Linked DNA regions of Homo sapiens: region 1 is linked to region 2. Evidence: promoter capture Hi-C in 16 types of primary human blood cells and fetal thymus (Javierre and others, 2016). All regions are on one chromosome and are shown on one strand. The core of a region is centred on a gene start or on the middle of the fragment in contact, and the rest is flanking DNA. Distances in the headings are between cores, read along the strand shown.

Region 1 (6,597 bases), core at 1,681-4,180, 560 kb before region 2:
GTGGTCTAGAGTCCTGTGTCCTTGAGCCAACCTGAGTTGTCCAGCTTGGGTTAGGAGTAATTCCCTTATTAAACCATACGCTGTAACCGGGGGAAGAATGTGGGCAGTCCAGCGGCAATTTTGGAGAAAGGAACGTGGATGTGCAGATAGCCTAGCTGTCTCTTCCATGTGATCTATCAAGACCTTCATGCTCCAGTCCATGCCTCCCCACAGTATGCAAGTACAGTATAGTGGCTAAAAGAATATTCATTAGGCTAGGCAGGTCCAGATCCAAGCCCTGGGTCAGCTACTTACTACCTAAATAACTTTCAGCAAGTTATTTTACCACTCTGAATCTTCATTTCTCCATCTATAAAATGGTGACAATTACCTTATGGGATTATTGCAAAATTAAATAATATACCTAAAGACCTTTACAGAGCATCTGACACATAGTAAATCCTCAATAAATGGCGGTCATCTCTAACAGGAAATTAAGTCTGGTGTCTACCACATCCTTCTGTGTCCTGAGGTAAATTTCGTATCACACTCATTTTAATTTCAACTTTAGTTGATTGTGTTGGGTCACACACTTAGCCCAAAGTAGCCAAATCACAGGTGACTCACACTGCTTGATACAAAAAGACTAGTAACTGCGCAAGAATTTCTCTCTCACAAATTTAAAGAAATACCAAGAGAATAAAGTGATTAAGCTGGCAGAACACAACCCCCCAAAAAAGACAGGCTGGTGTGGTCTTGAGAGACCACAGACAAGCTGAAGTCCTAAGAAAGAAGAAACGGAAATAAGGAAGCCAGGTGACACAGGGACTCAGAGCAGACCCTGATGCCACCTCCTTGGGTACAGATCCTCTCCCCTCCAGGTCTAATTTCAGTGTGGCATGACCCTCTCCCAGAATTGTGATCCTTGCCAGAGCCCTGAGGCATGAACAATTAGGATAAAATGAGAATGCCCTACTCCATGATGTTACTACACTATAGAATCTTGCAAACGTCCAGGGAAAACACAGTTGTTCAGAAAGGGCAATCACATGGGCACAATCATAATGATAGAAGGAGTAGCCTGATATTACGAAATCCTTGGCTGTGAAATGTGAACTTATGGAGGTTTTCTGGCTTTTATATTACAGATGTTCCTTGGGTTGTATAAAATTGGATTTAAGCAAATGTGACCTCATGCAAATTATCTAAGATACATCATAAAAGCTTAGCGATGCAGATTTTGCATTCTATATAGAAATACAAAGCAGTCAGGTTGATGAACAAATAGTATGAGAGGTGAGTGGAGGGCTAGCAGCACCACCACAAGGTTCCCTCCTGCTTCCAGTCTCACCTGTGGTTTTTTTTTTGGTTGCTGGACTGGCCCACAAGACTCAAGACTACATTGGCCCAGGCTCTTGTAAGTTTGACTAGCCCAATGACATAAAAGGAATAAGCATCATTCATAATCAAATTAAAGCTTAAGTTGTGTATCATTTATTTGCTTTTATAAACCTTTAACAGGAAGGCCAGGTGTGGTGACCTGCAAGCCCAGCACTTTGGGAGGCTGAGGCAGGATTGTTTGCAGCCAGGAGTTCAAGACAAGCCTGGGAAACAGTGAGAACCCATCTCTACAAAATCAATAAATAGGCCAGGTGTGGTGGCTCACGCCTGTAATCCCAGCCCACTGAGAGGCCAAGACAGGCGGATCACCTGAGGTCAGGAGTTTCAGACCAGCCTGGCCAATATGGTAAAACCCTGTCTACTAAAAATATAAAAATTAGCTAGGCTAGGCATGGTGGCTCACGCCTGTAATCCTAGCACTTTGGGAGGCAGAGGTGGGCGGATCACAAGGTCAGGAGTTTGAGACAAGTTTGACCAACATGGTGAAACCACGTTTCTACTAAAAATACAGAAATCAGCCGGGCATGGTGGCATGCGCTTGTAATCCCAGCTACTCAGGAAGCTGAGGCAGGAGAATCGCTTGAACCCGGGAGGTGAAGGTTGCAGTGAGCCGCGATTGCGCCACTGCACTCCAGCCTAGGTGACAGAGCAAGACTCCGTCTCAAAAAAAAAAAAAAAAAAGAAAGAAAGAAAGAAAGAAAGAAAACCCACAAAATTAGCCAGGTGTGGTGGTGCGTGCCTGTAATCCCAGCTACTCAGGAGGCTGAAGCAGGAGAATCGCTTGAACCTGGGAGGCGGAGGTTGCAGTGAGCCAGGATCACACCACTGCAATCCAGCCTGGGCAACAGAGTGAGACTCTGTCTCAAAATAAAATAAAAATGAATAAATAAATAAAAATTAGCTGGGCATGGTGGCATGCACCCATAGTCCCAGCTATTTGGGAGACTGAGATAGAAGGATGGCTTTAGCCCAGGAGTTTGAGGCTGCAGTAACCTATGAGTGTGCCACTACACTCTGGCCTGGGCAACAGAGCAAGACCTTGTCTCTGAAAAAAAAAAAAAAAAAAGTATAATGGAACCCCATGTAATTGTCACCCAGCTTCAGCAACTCCAATTCGCAGCCAGTCTTGTTTCATCTACTCCATTAACTTACTTCTTTCCCTCTGCCCCAGACTAATTTGAAGCAAATCCAAGACATCATACTATTTCACTATAAATATATAACTTTTAATAATGGTTCTTGGATCTCAAACCAGCAACAAAAAGAAAACATATTCTATTCAGGATGCTGAGGCAGGAGGATTGCTTCAGCTCAGGAGTTTGAAACCAGTCTTAGCAAGAATATAGTGAGATCCGTATCTCCAAAAAAAAAAAAAAAAAAATAGGAAAGAAAAATATGGTATGGTTAAGAGGGGCATTTGCCTATTTTCCCTTTCTTAAAACTTCTGACAGGAGCATGGAGGAAACTGAAGTTCCAAAGTGGTAAAAGAGAACACATGCTCAAGTAGAATAAATAATTCAGTCCTAAATTAATATGGACCTATTTCTTCTTTTTTAAAAAGGCTATTGATTAGGTCATAAAGAATATTAATTAAAAAAGAATATTAGTTGAAGAAATAGAATACTAGAGTTACAGATTATCAGCTTCACAGCTAGCTCAGACACAGCATCATTGCCCAGTCCTGAAGAACAGATAATGGTGTTCAATATTTCATACACTTAAGATTTTCTGAACCCCTAATAGAGGTTGTTTTTTAATGCTTATAGTCGGTTTCTACATGTGCTTCACCAAAAAAAAAAGTATATCAGGCTGAGAGGTGGCTCTTAAACTTTTTCCCACTTACATACCAAAATTATTCAGTAACTAATTCAAAGCAAGGCAACAGAAAATACTAAACATAGAGTGGGGAAACTCTTGATCTGGAAAGCTGAACCCACCAAGAAAACAACAGTTTAGCTATATCCCATTTGCTGTAGGGGATAAAATATCTTAAAAACAAAACAAAACAAAACAAAACAAAAACAAAAACAGTGGAAGGAAACCATGCCTTCTTTCTTAGTGGTTTAGGTACTTAAAATATCAAACTCAATATAACAAATGCTAACTCAAGCTCATTTTGCATTTTTCCTCTTCCCTGCCAAACAGTATAGGGAAAAAAATGAGTTTCCATTTCATTTGTGTATATAATTTCATCTGTATATAAAATTTCATATTTATGGTTCTGGAGAAAGCACCATTTCAAAATATCACTGCAACTGATTCAAGCACTAAATCTTGTGAGTGAATTCTTCAGAACATGCAGCATTAAAAATGCTTTAACACTGGTCACTTAAAAGTATCATAATTTATAGATATAGGATGTTTTCAAACATACCAAAGTACTATGAAAATATGTACCAAAACTCATAATGCTAACAATAAAGAAGTAACAAAGTAAACAGTGTAGGTCCAAGACAGAAATGTGAGCAGAAAATAAATTGGACACTCCTTGCCTTCCCACTACTATCCTTTCTCCTCCTCCCTCTGTAATTTGCCATTTTTGTGGAACACTCCTTCAGGTACATAAGGTCCTTGTGCTTCCCGTTTTAAAACACGCTCTCAGAAGGCTGGGCGTGGTGGCTCACGCCTGTAATCCCAGCACTTTGGGAGGCCGAGGCGGGCGGATCATGAAGTCAGGTCGAGACCATCCTGGCTAACACGGTGAAACCCCGTCTCTACTAAAAATATTTAAAAAATTAGCTGGGCGTGGTGGCTGGTGCCTGTAGTCCCAGCTACTCGAGAGGCTGAGCCAGGAGAATGGCGTGAACCCGGGAGGCGGAGCTTGCAGTGAGCCGAGATCCCGCCACTGCACTCCAGCCTGGGCGATAGAGCAAGACTCCGTCTCAAAAAAAAAGAAAAAAAATTAAAAACAAACAAACAAAAAAACAACAAAAAACATGCTCTCAGAAAAAAAGTGAAATTCATATGCACTGAGGTAAACATAACTAATAACCTCAAGTATTATTCTTAATCAGTGTTTGCATCTTAAGCTTAAACTTAAACAAAAAAAAAACCAAGAGTGGAATTTTCGTGTCAGCTAGCAGGTAGGAGTGATTTCATCAGTGCCTTTGAAATCTCATACTGAATATAGTCAATTCAGTCTACCAATAAGGTCAGCACTGAGGACATGCGAATATACATACAGTGTAGTATATATAAACCTACCAATGAGATTTCACCTGTAAGATTTTACTTTTATGTTCCAGTTCTTTTCAGCAGTGACACTTCCAACCATAAACCTACCTCTAAACTGGAAATCATATTATCTCTTACCAATAAGATTACTGTTTTTATCACCAAAAATCTGGTTTTATCACCAAAAATCTCTCAAGGAAAGAAAACAAAGTATGAGGCAAGACCAATGCTTTAAAGCCAAAAAACTGATATAAATTGGGAAGGGGCTATACCAAAAGTGAGGTTCAGAAAGCTGGCTTTGTTATTCCTAACAGATATTTTCTTAAAAATCTATTAAAAAGCACCCCCCCAACCCAGCCAAACACACATAAAGACTTGGTAGGAAAAAGCCCCTTCTCTTTCTCCCTTTTTCTTCCTGAATGTGGATAAAGGCCCAGAGATGGCACAGCCCCCTTAACCACAAGGCAATAAACATGAACGCAAAGGCCTACCTGGCAGACCACGTGAAGGGTGAAAGGAGCCACCTCATTACATCTGGATTTTTGCATAAGGTTCCTGAAAGAGATCAGATTCAGCTGCTACAGGAGGGTTTCTGTTACTGCAGCTGAATATACTTAACAGTGGATACAAAGACGTAATTCTCACTTAAAAAAATCAAATTAGGCTGGGCACGGTGGCTCACGCCTGTAATCCCAGCACTTTGGGAGGCCAAGGCGGGCAGATCACGAGGTCAGATCGAGACCATCCTGGCTAACACAGTGAAACCCTGTCTCTACTAAAAATACAAAAAATTAGCCAGGCGTGGTGGCGGGCACCTGTGGTCCCAGTTACTCGGGAGGCTGAGGCAGGAGAATGGCATAAACCCAGGAGGCGGAGCTTGCAGTGAGCTGAGATCGCACCACTGCACTTCAGCCTGGGCGACAGAGTGAGACTCTGTCTCAAAACAAACAAACAAACAAACAAAATTAACAGCTATGAAGAAAATCAACACTGATCTCGCACATATCCTAAAAAGAACCTCAATGATAAGCTTACATTTTTGCTTTCCTCAACTGAGGATGATAAATATCACATAAAAAGAGGGGTGACAGTGGTGAAACCTCAGATTCCAAAGTCAAAAAAAGTGAGACAAGTCTAGGACAGAAAAATGTTAACACCAGACAATTATGGTCTAATATGGGCTTTAGTTAATATTTCCAATAAGTCAATTTCAACTGTCAGTGAGAAAAATAAAGTTTATTTCTTGTACAGAAGTAATTCCAATTCAGGTTTTAAGTCTGAACCTTCAAACTTGGGAAGTTTTTTTCCAAGTCATCAGCAAGCGCCTTATCAACTTCACGTAGGATTTTAATAAAATCTTCCACCTGTGAGTCAAACAAACAAACAAAAATCAAACACAGAAGAGAAAAACGTGCTTTAAGGTACTGATTGCTCTACCTGTGGTTTCTAAATGGTCCAATGGAAAAGAAATGCTGGCAGATCTCCAGATGATAGTAACAGTACTTCCTAAGCAGTCTTCTAAATCATTCTCAAGGAAATGACTATGCTTTCCCATTCCGTTTTACTCTTGAGCTAGTACTTCTCCCCCCGCCTCTTCTTTACAGTCTGTTCCCACATTCTGTCCTTCATTTTCCTGAAAAAGTTCCTATTTTGAAATCTGATTCTAATGGTAGGAAATGTGATGTCATTTGAAGAACCATAAAAACCTACTGACTATTCCCAAGAATCTGATTTTGGCTTAATATAGATGTTATCTACTTCATAACAGAAAGGAGTACTATAAATTCAGAGCTTATTTTTTTCCTCTTAGAATTGTTACTCCCAATACTATTATGAATTTTCCAGTAGTCATCTTTTTTTCCCTCAACTTTTATTGTAGACTCAGGGGAGTCTAAATGTGCAGGTTTGTTATAAAGGTATATTACATGATGCCGAGGTTTGAGGCACAGATGAACCTGTTACCCAGGCAGTGAGCTTAGTACCCAATAGGTAGTTTTTCAGCCCTTGCCCTCCCTCTCTCCCTCCCCTCCTCCTGTGGTCCCC
Region 2 (6,383 bases), core at 3,784-6,283:
TGGCCAACATGGTGAAACCCCCATCTCTTAACTAAAAATACAAAAGTTAGCTGGGCATGGTGGCGTGCGGCTGCAGTCCCAGCTACTCAGGAGGCTGAGGCAGGAGAATCGCTTGACCCCGGGTGGCAGAGGTTGCAGTGAGCCCAGATCGCTCACTGCATTCCAGCCTGGGCGACAGAGTGAGACTTTGTCTCAAAAAAAAAATTATAGCTATGTGAAACCTGTAAGAATCCACATTCTAAGCTCTAGTATTCTACCAAAACAAGTTAACTACTTTGTTTTTCCTACTGGAACCCAGGGAGAAAAATCAAGTGCAAGTTTACCAAAAATATCTTTTCTCCTTTATATATAAACAGAGCCAGTGACGACAACTTGTTTCATCACCTTGATCAGCAGTTATTATATATTCAGTTTTCCACTGGGAAATGACAGTGTGCCTACTATTTCTGGGCCTGATGCAATCCTACCTTTAACATAAAAAACTATTTGTTAAAAATTAAGAAACAAAAAAATGATGATTAGGGAAATACTCATAGCTTCTCAAGACAGATACAATAGGTAGCTTTAAAAAATAAAGCTCTGCCGGGCACGGTGGCTCACGCCTGTAATCCCAGCACTTTGGGAGGTCAAGGTGGGTGGATCACAAGGTCAGGAGATCGAGACCATCCTGGCCAACATGGTGAAACCCCATCTCTACTAAAAATACAAAAATTAGCTGGGCGTGGTGGTGGGTGCCTGTAATCCCAGCTACTCGGAAGGCTAAGCCAAGAGAATGGCTTGAACCCAGGAGGCGGAGGTTACAGTGAGCCAAGACCATGCCACTGCACTTCAGCCTGGTGACAGAGGAAGACTCTGTCTCAAAAAATAAAAATAAAAATAAAGCTCTGGCCGGGCATGGTGGCTCATGCCTGTAATCCCAGCACTTTGGGAGGCCGAGGCAGGTGGATCACGAGCTCAGGAGATTGAGACCATCCTGACCAACATGGTGAAACCCCATCTCTACTAAAAATACAAAAATTAGCTGGGTGTGGTGGCATGCGCCTGTAATCCCAGCTACTTGGGAGGCTGAGGCAGGAGAATCGCTTGAACCCAGAAGGTGGAGGCTGCAGTGAGCAGAGATAGCGCCACTGCACTCCAGCCTGGTGACAGAACGAGACTCGTCTCAAAATAACAACAAAAAGCTCTGCAAAGAGTCTGAAAGGCTGAAGTGGCTGTACAGGTGTTTGGATTTTAGTCTAATCATCGCTAGTCACTGGATTTCCTTACCATAGTAAAGGTCTGACCCAAGAACTCTGAAGACTGAAATTCTGAGCATTAGCTCTGATAGGTTCCAAATGAAGGTGGGAGAAGAAGTTGGCGAACAGGGAAAAATGAACCAATCAATAGAGAGAGATGCAGCCTAGTTAGTTATTGCAAAGCCTCTGTGGTTCTCAGATCAATTAATCAAGTAAATTTATAACAGCAGGGTGTGTATAGGGCAGGGAGGGATGTAGCTGTCTTTTTTTATTTTATTTTATTTTTCTTTTCATTTGAGACAGAGTCTCGCTCTGTCACCCCGGCTGGAGTGCAGTGGCACGATCTCCACTCACTGCAACCTCTGTCTTACTGCAACCTCCGCCTCTCAAGTTCAAGCCATTCTCCTGCCTCAGCCTCCTGAGTAGCTGAGATTACAGGTGTGCCCCACCATGCCTGGCTAATTTTTGCATTTTTAGTAGAGACGGGGTTTCACCACATTGGCCAGGCTGGTCTCAAACTCCTGATCTCAGGTGATCTGCCCACCTTGGCCTCCCAAAGTGCTGGGATTAAAGGTGTGAGCCACAGCACCCAGCCAGAAATAAAGCTGTTAATTGATACGATAGTCCCCAACTCTCTCTTTGTTTTTAATAATTGTGAAAATCATAGACATAGTGTACAGGGTAACAGATTATTAGAAAGCAAGTATCCTTTTAAGCTACCATCGAAGTCAAGAAACATTTCAAGACAGGCCTGGCTCAGTGGTTCACACCTGTACTCACAGCAGTCTGGGAGGCTGAGGTGGGCTGATCACTTGAGGCCAGGAGTTTGATACCAGCCCTATCTCTACTAAAAATACAAAAAAATTAACTGGGCGTGGTGGTGCACCCCTGTATTCCCAGCTACTCAGGAGGCTGAGGCAGGAGAATGGCTTGAACCTGCGAGGCGGAGCTTGCAGTGAGCCAAGATTTCGCCACTGCACTCCAGCCTGGGCAACAGAGACTCCATCTCAAAAAAAAGAAAAGAAAAGAAAAAGCTTTATTTCTTTTAAAATAGATAACAAAAAAAAAAAAAAAACCACCAAACACTTTATTTCTTTTAAAATAGATGGCAAAAAAAGAAAAAAAGCTTTATTTCTTTTAAAATAGATGGAATAAATATGGGGAAATGTTAATATGCTAAATACGGGGTTTGGGTATATTAGAAATGTGTTAACATTCCTTATGTTTGAAAGTGTCCAAATTACTTTAAGCTGATAAGGAAAAAGTAAATAGAACAGTTAGATGAATCAAGTTAAAGCAAATCAAGTAAAGCATGAAATTTGGCCGGGTGTGGTGGCTCACACCTGTAATTTCAGCACTTTGGGAAGCCGAGGTGGGCGAATGACTTGAGGAAGGAGTTCAAGACCAGCCTGGCCAACATGGTGAAACCCTGTCTCTACCAAAAATACAAAAGTTAGCTTGATGTGGTGACAGGTGCCTGTAGTCCCAGTTACTCAAGAGGCTGAGACAGGAGAATTGCTTGAACTCAGCAGGTGGAGGCTGCAGTGAGCCGAGACCATGCCACTGCACTCCAGCCTCCAGCCCGGACGACAGAGTGAGACTCTATCTTAAAAAAAAAAAAAAAGAAGAAGAAGAAATTTAACTACAGTCTTATCCTATTCCTCAATAGTTTCTTTTGTGACTTTAATTCCACATAAAAAGATAAGAATTATAATGCTGGTAACTAAATCAAACTTCTAGGCTTACTAGCTTTGGCGGGGAGAGGTCAGAGAATGCATGATTCATAAAATATATGGCTATATTATCTATTGATTTTTTTTTTTTTGAAATGAAGTTTTTCTCTTGTTGCCCAGGCTGGAGTGCAATCGCACGATCTCAGCTCACTGCAATCTCCGCCTCCTGGGTTCAAGCAATTCTGTCTCAGCCTCCCAAGTAGCTGGGATTACAGGCGCACACCACCATGCCCGGCTAATTTTTGTATTTTTAGTAGAGATGGGGTTTCATCATATTTGTCAGGCTGGTCTCAAACTCCTGACTTCAGGTGATTCTCCCGCCTAGGCCTCCCAAAGTGCTGGGATTACAGGCCTGAGCCATTGCGCCCATCTATTAAATTTTAAATTACTTTTTTCCCCTTTTTGATTCTTCTGTTATTCCAATCATAGATAATGCATATATTATGACATATACACATATTTTGAAATTTTCTGCTTTAGGATTATCTGTCTGCTTTTCTCCCAGCAGCTACTGGCTTTCAGAATAAGAAATGACTTAGTTCTGATTCTTCCACAGAACAGTACTGGGCATCAAAGCTAGTACTATCTTTGACCTTTACTGAAATTCAATAAGATCTAGAATGAAATACAGACCAAATTATGCAAAGATGAATGGTTACTAGACCCAATATTGATTCATCTGGAAAATTTACAGATGCTTCTAGAAAGTAAATCTGTTGATCTGGGTTTCAAAGGTTTGAGTCTATACCTTCAACATGCAAAGCTTATGACTCACGGCTTAGAGGAATGGTTATTCAGAGTTCTTGGGATAAGGGATGGCTGTGTGTGTGTATATATACATATATTTATAAACATAAATATAGACCTTTTTCAGATCAATATTTTCAAAGGGATAAAAGAATGAACTAGCCTCAGAAGACAAAAAAAAGCTGCAGAAGAGAAAAAAACGAATATTGCAATATACGAATATCTAGGAAATGCAGAGCACTTCGTCGGAGCTCAATAAATTCTAGCTGAATTGACTTTGAGAGCCGTTTTAGTTCTATACCTCACTGCTCAAACCGCAGGCATCACCATGCAACTTATCGGTTTACAGCTGTGCTGTGGGTACCATCTGAAAATCTGGAAATGATTAGCTTATGCAAAACAGCCATAACCCCCAGAAACCAGGCGCTCTCCACCACTTTACCATTTAAGTCTTACACCGCTCTTGCGACTGTAAGCGAACTGACAAACATCTACTGACCAAATGGGACCTAGATTTTAAACAAAGACTGAAATCTGGAAGGCTACAAGTAAACAGAAGCTGAAACTAGCTCACCTATTCTGTTGGCCAAGGATTTCGTGGAATCTGCTAAACTTCTCTTCCCAAAAGATGATACCTATCCCCTGGGAGGTGATAATTTAATCACCTCGGTGGCTGAGTGGGTGGGGCCGAGTCAGAGAATTCTTTCAAGAAATCGCTAAACGTTTGACTTGAAGATCGATGAGAAGCCAGCCAAAAAGCTATCAAGCCAAGGACCCCAAACCCCCTAACTCCCTTACATACATATTTCCTTCCCAATCTCTAGGCTGAAGTTTATGTGGAAGCCAAAAACTACCAGCGCTAGAATCCACAGCGTGCCAGGCACAGCTCACTCACGGCTTTCACGCAATTCTAGCTACAACACCCAAACCGCAAAGTCCCTGTTGCAGGGGTAAATAAGCCGGCGAAACCCATTCACAGGAAGGCTCCCGCGTCTCGTCCCAAGCTCTTTTCTCCCGAGTTCCCAAGAGTATAAACCCAAGAAAAGGAAATAAGGCGTCCGGGTCTTTCCTCTCCCGGAGCCGATAGGCGGCTGCCCAGAAGTTCCATGGGCCACACACATTCCGAACTTGGAAGACTAGGGTCCCCTACATTGATGCCCCAGCTGCTACTTACCGGCACATTGTTGACACCTTGTCCCTTGGAAGCTATCATGAGAATTTCTCTGAAGTCCATGTTGGGCCGAGGCGGGAGAGACTGGGCCAGGCACTCGGAAAGGACTGACAGCGCACCTAACCGAGGCGCCCAGCTACAGCCAACTGCACTGCCTCGGGAGCCCCACTCCCACCCCGCCTCTGCGGGACCACTTCCGGCGCCTTCCTATGCCGTCTGCCCGCCCCCTTCCCTCCACGGCCTATATCCTTTCAGGGCCGCCACAGCGCTCGCGAGTCCCTGCGTAACTTCCGCTTTTAGGCCGAGACACGTACAAACGTGATACGTGGCTGCTGGCGTCGACCCGAGGGGCAGGGACTAGGCATTTTAGCAACCAAGGGGGTGTGGCTAAGCGAGAGAGCGGCTTCCCTGGTGGCCCGGGCGCGCGGTCTTGTCATCTTGTTGCTCCTTGTGAGCGCTGGGTAGAGAAAGTGAGGGGGTAGAGGGTTTACTTGCCAGGCCTGGGTTCTCTGGGTGTCACGGGTAGGCGCTTAGATCCAAAACGGCGGCGCCACAACAGCTGAACAGACGGATCTCGAGCCGGGGTTTGGGCTACTTGTGTCTAGGCGCTCGCGAAGCTGCGCAGGCGCACACAGCAGCGCCGTGGTCCTGTCTTGGATGCCCATTACTCATCAAATTCGGCCACATGCCGTGCGCTTACCTCCTACTCAGATGCACGCGTGCCGGGGATGGGGGCACGCGCTTACTTCTTTTGCCCCGTTTAGAAAGTAAGTTTTATGTGGAGCAGCCAACCTGTGTTTTTGCTCAGGCAATGGATTAAGGAATTTCACATACAGACCCAGCCTTGACATAACTTTGGTGTACTGATGAACATATGCTTCATATTCATATTCATTGGGATCCTAGTCCTGACTTCTTTTGGAGAGTTATCTTGGATCTGTAAGGTCATTTCGACTTAGCAAAAACACTGAAAATAATTAGGCAAACCTGGGTCTGCAAGTGGGAACCCGCCAGGGGATTGATAGCAAACAGGTACTCGGGATCTTTTCGGTGGGATGGAAATGCCTCCAAACTGGATTGTGGGGATGGTTGCACTATACATGTACTAAAAATCGTACACTTAAGACGGGTGAGAATGATACAGTATGTAAATATGTCAAGCTGTTAAAACATGCTAGACAGGCCGAGCGCGGTGGCTCACGCCTGTAATCCCAGCACTTTGGGAGGCCGAGGCGGGCGGATCACGAGGTCAGGAGATCGAGACCATCCCGGCTAAAACGGTGAAACCCCGTCTCTACTAAAAATACAAAAAATTAGCCGGGCGTAGTGGCGGGCGCCTGTAGTCCCAGCTACTTGGGAGGCTGAGGCAGGAGAATGGCGTGAACCCGGGAGGCGGAGCTTGCAGTGAGCCGAGATCCCGCCACTGCACTCCAGCCTGGGCGACAGAGCGAGACTCCGTCTCAAAAAAAAAAAACAAAAAACATGCTAGACAAAGCT

What was found. Contacts are between HindIII fragments. The CHiCAGO score rates a contact against its expected background, and 5 or more counts as called.
Region 1: a fragment that was not itself captured here is called in contact with the fragment with the promoter of SPTY2D1 in region 2 in 1 of 17 cell types (naive B cells); the score reaches 5.3 in naive B cells.

What each region holds. Positions count from the first base shown.
Region 1 is chr11:18,074,574-18,081,170 of GRCh38, forward strand. It overlaps SAAL1 (serum amyloid A like 1), which reads right to left. Exons shown (of 12, transcript NM_138421.3): 12 at 5,719-5,918. The coding sequence ends at 5,826. Among named protein-coding and RNA genes, the nearest start is that of SAAL1, 28 kb to the right of the region's middle. The HindIII fragment of the contact is 2,953 bases long and covers 1,455-4,407 here.
Region 2 is chr11:18,629,309-18,635,691 of GRCh38, forward strand. It overlaps SPTY2D1 (SPT2 chromatin protein domain containing 1), which reads right to left and starts at 5,034. Exons shown (of 6, transcript NM_194285.3): 1 at 4,890-5,034. The coding sequence starts at 4,949. LOC105376578 (a long non-coding RNA gene) reads left to right here and starts at 5,041. Exons shown (of 2, transcript XR_931097.3): 1 at 5,041-5,653. RefSeq lists a silencer at 4,019-4,198 and an enhancer at 5,255-5,524. The HindIII fragment of the contact is 3,460 bases long and covers 3,730-6,383 here.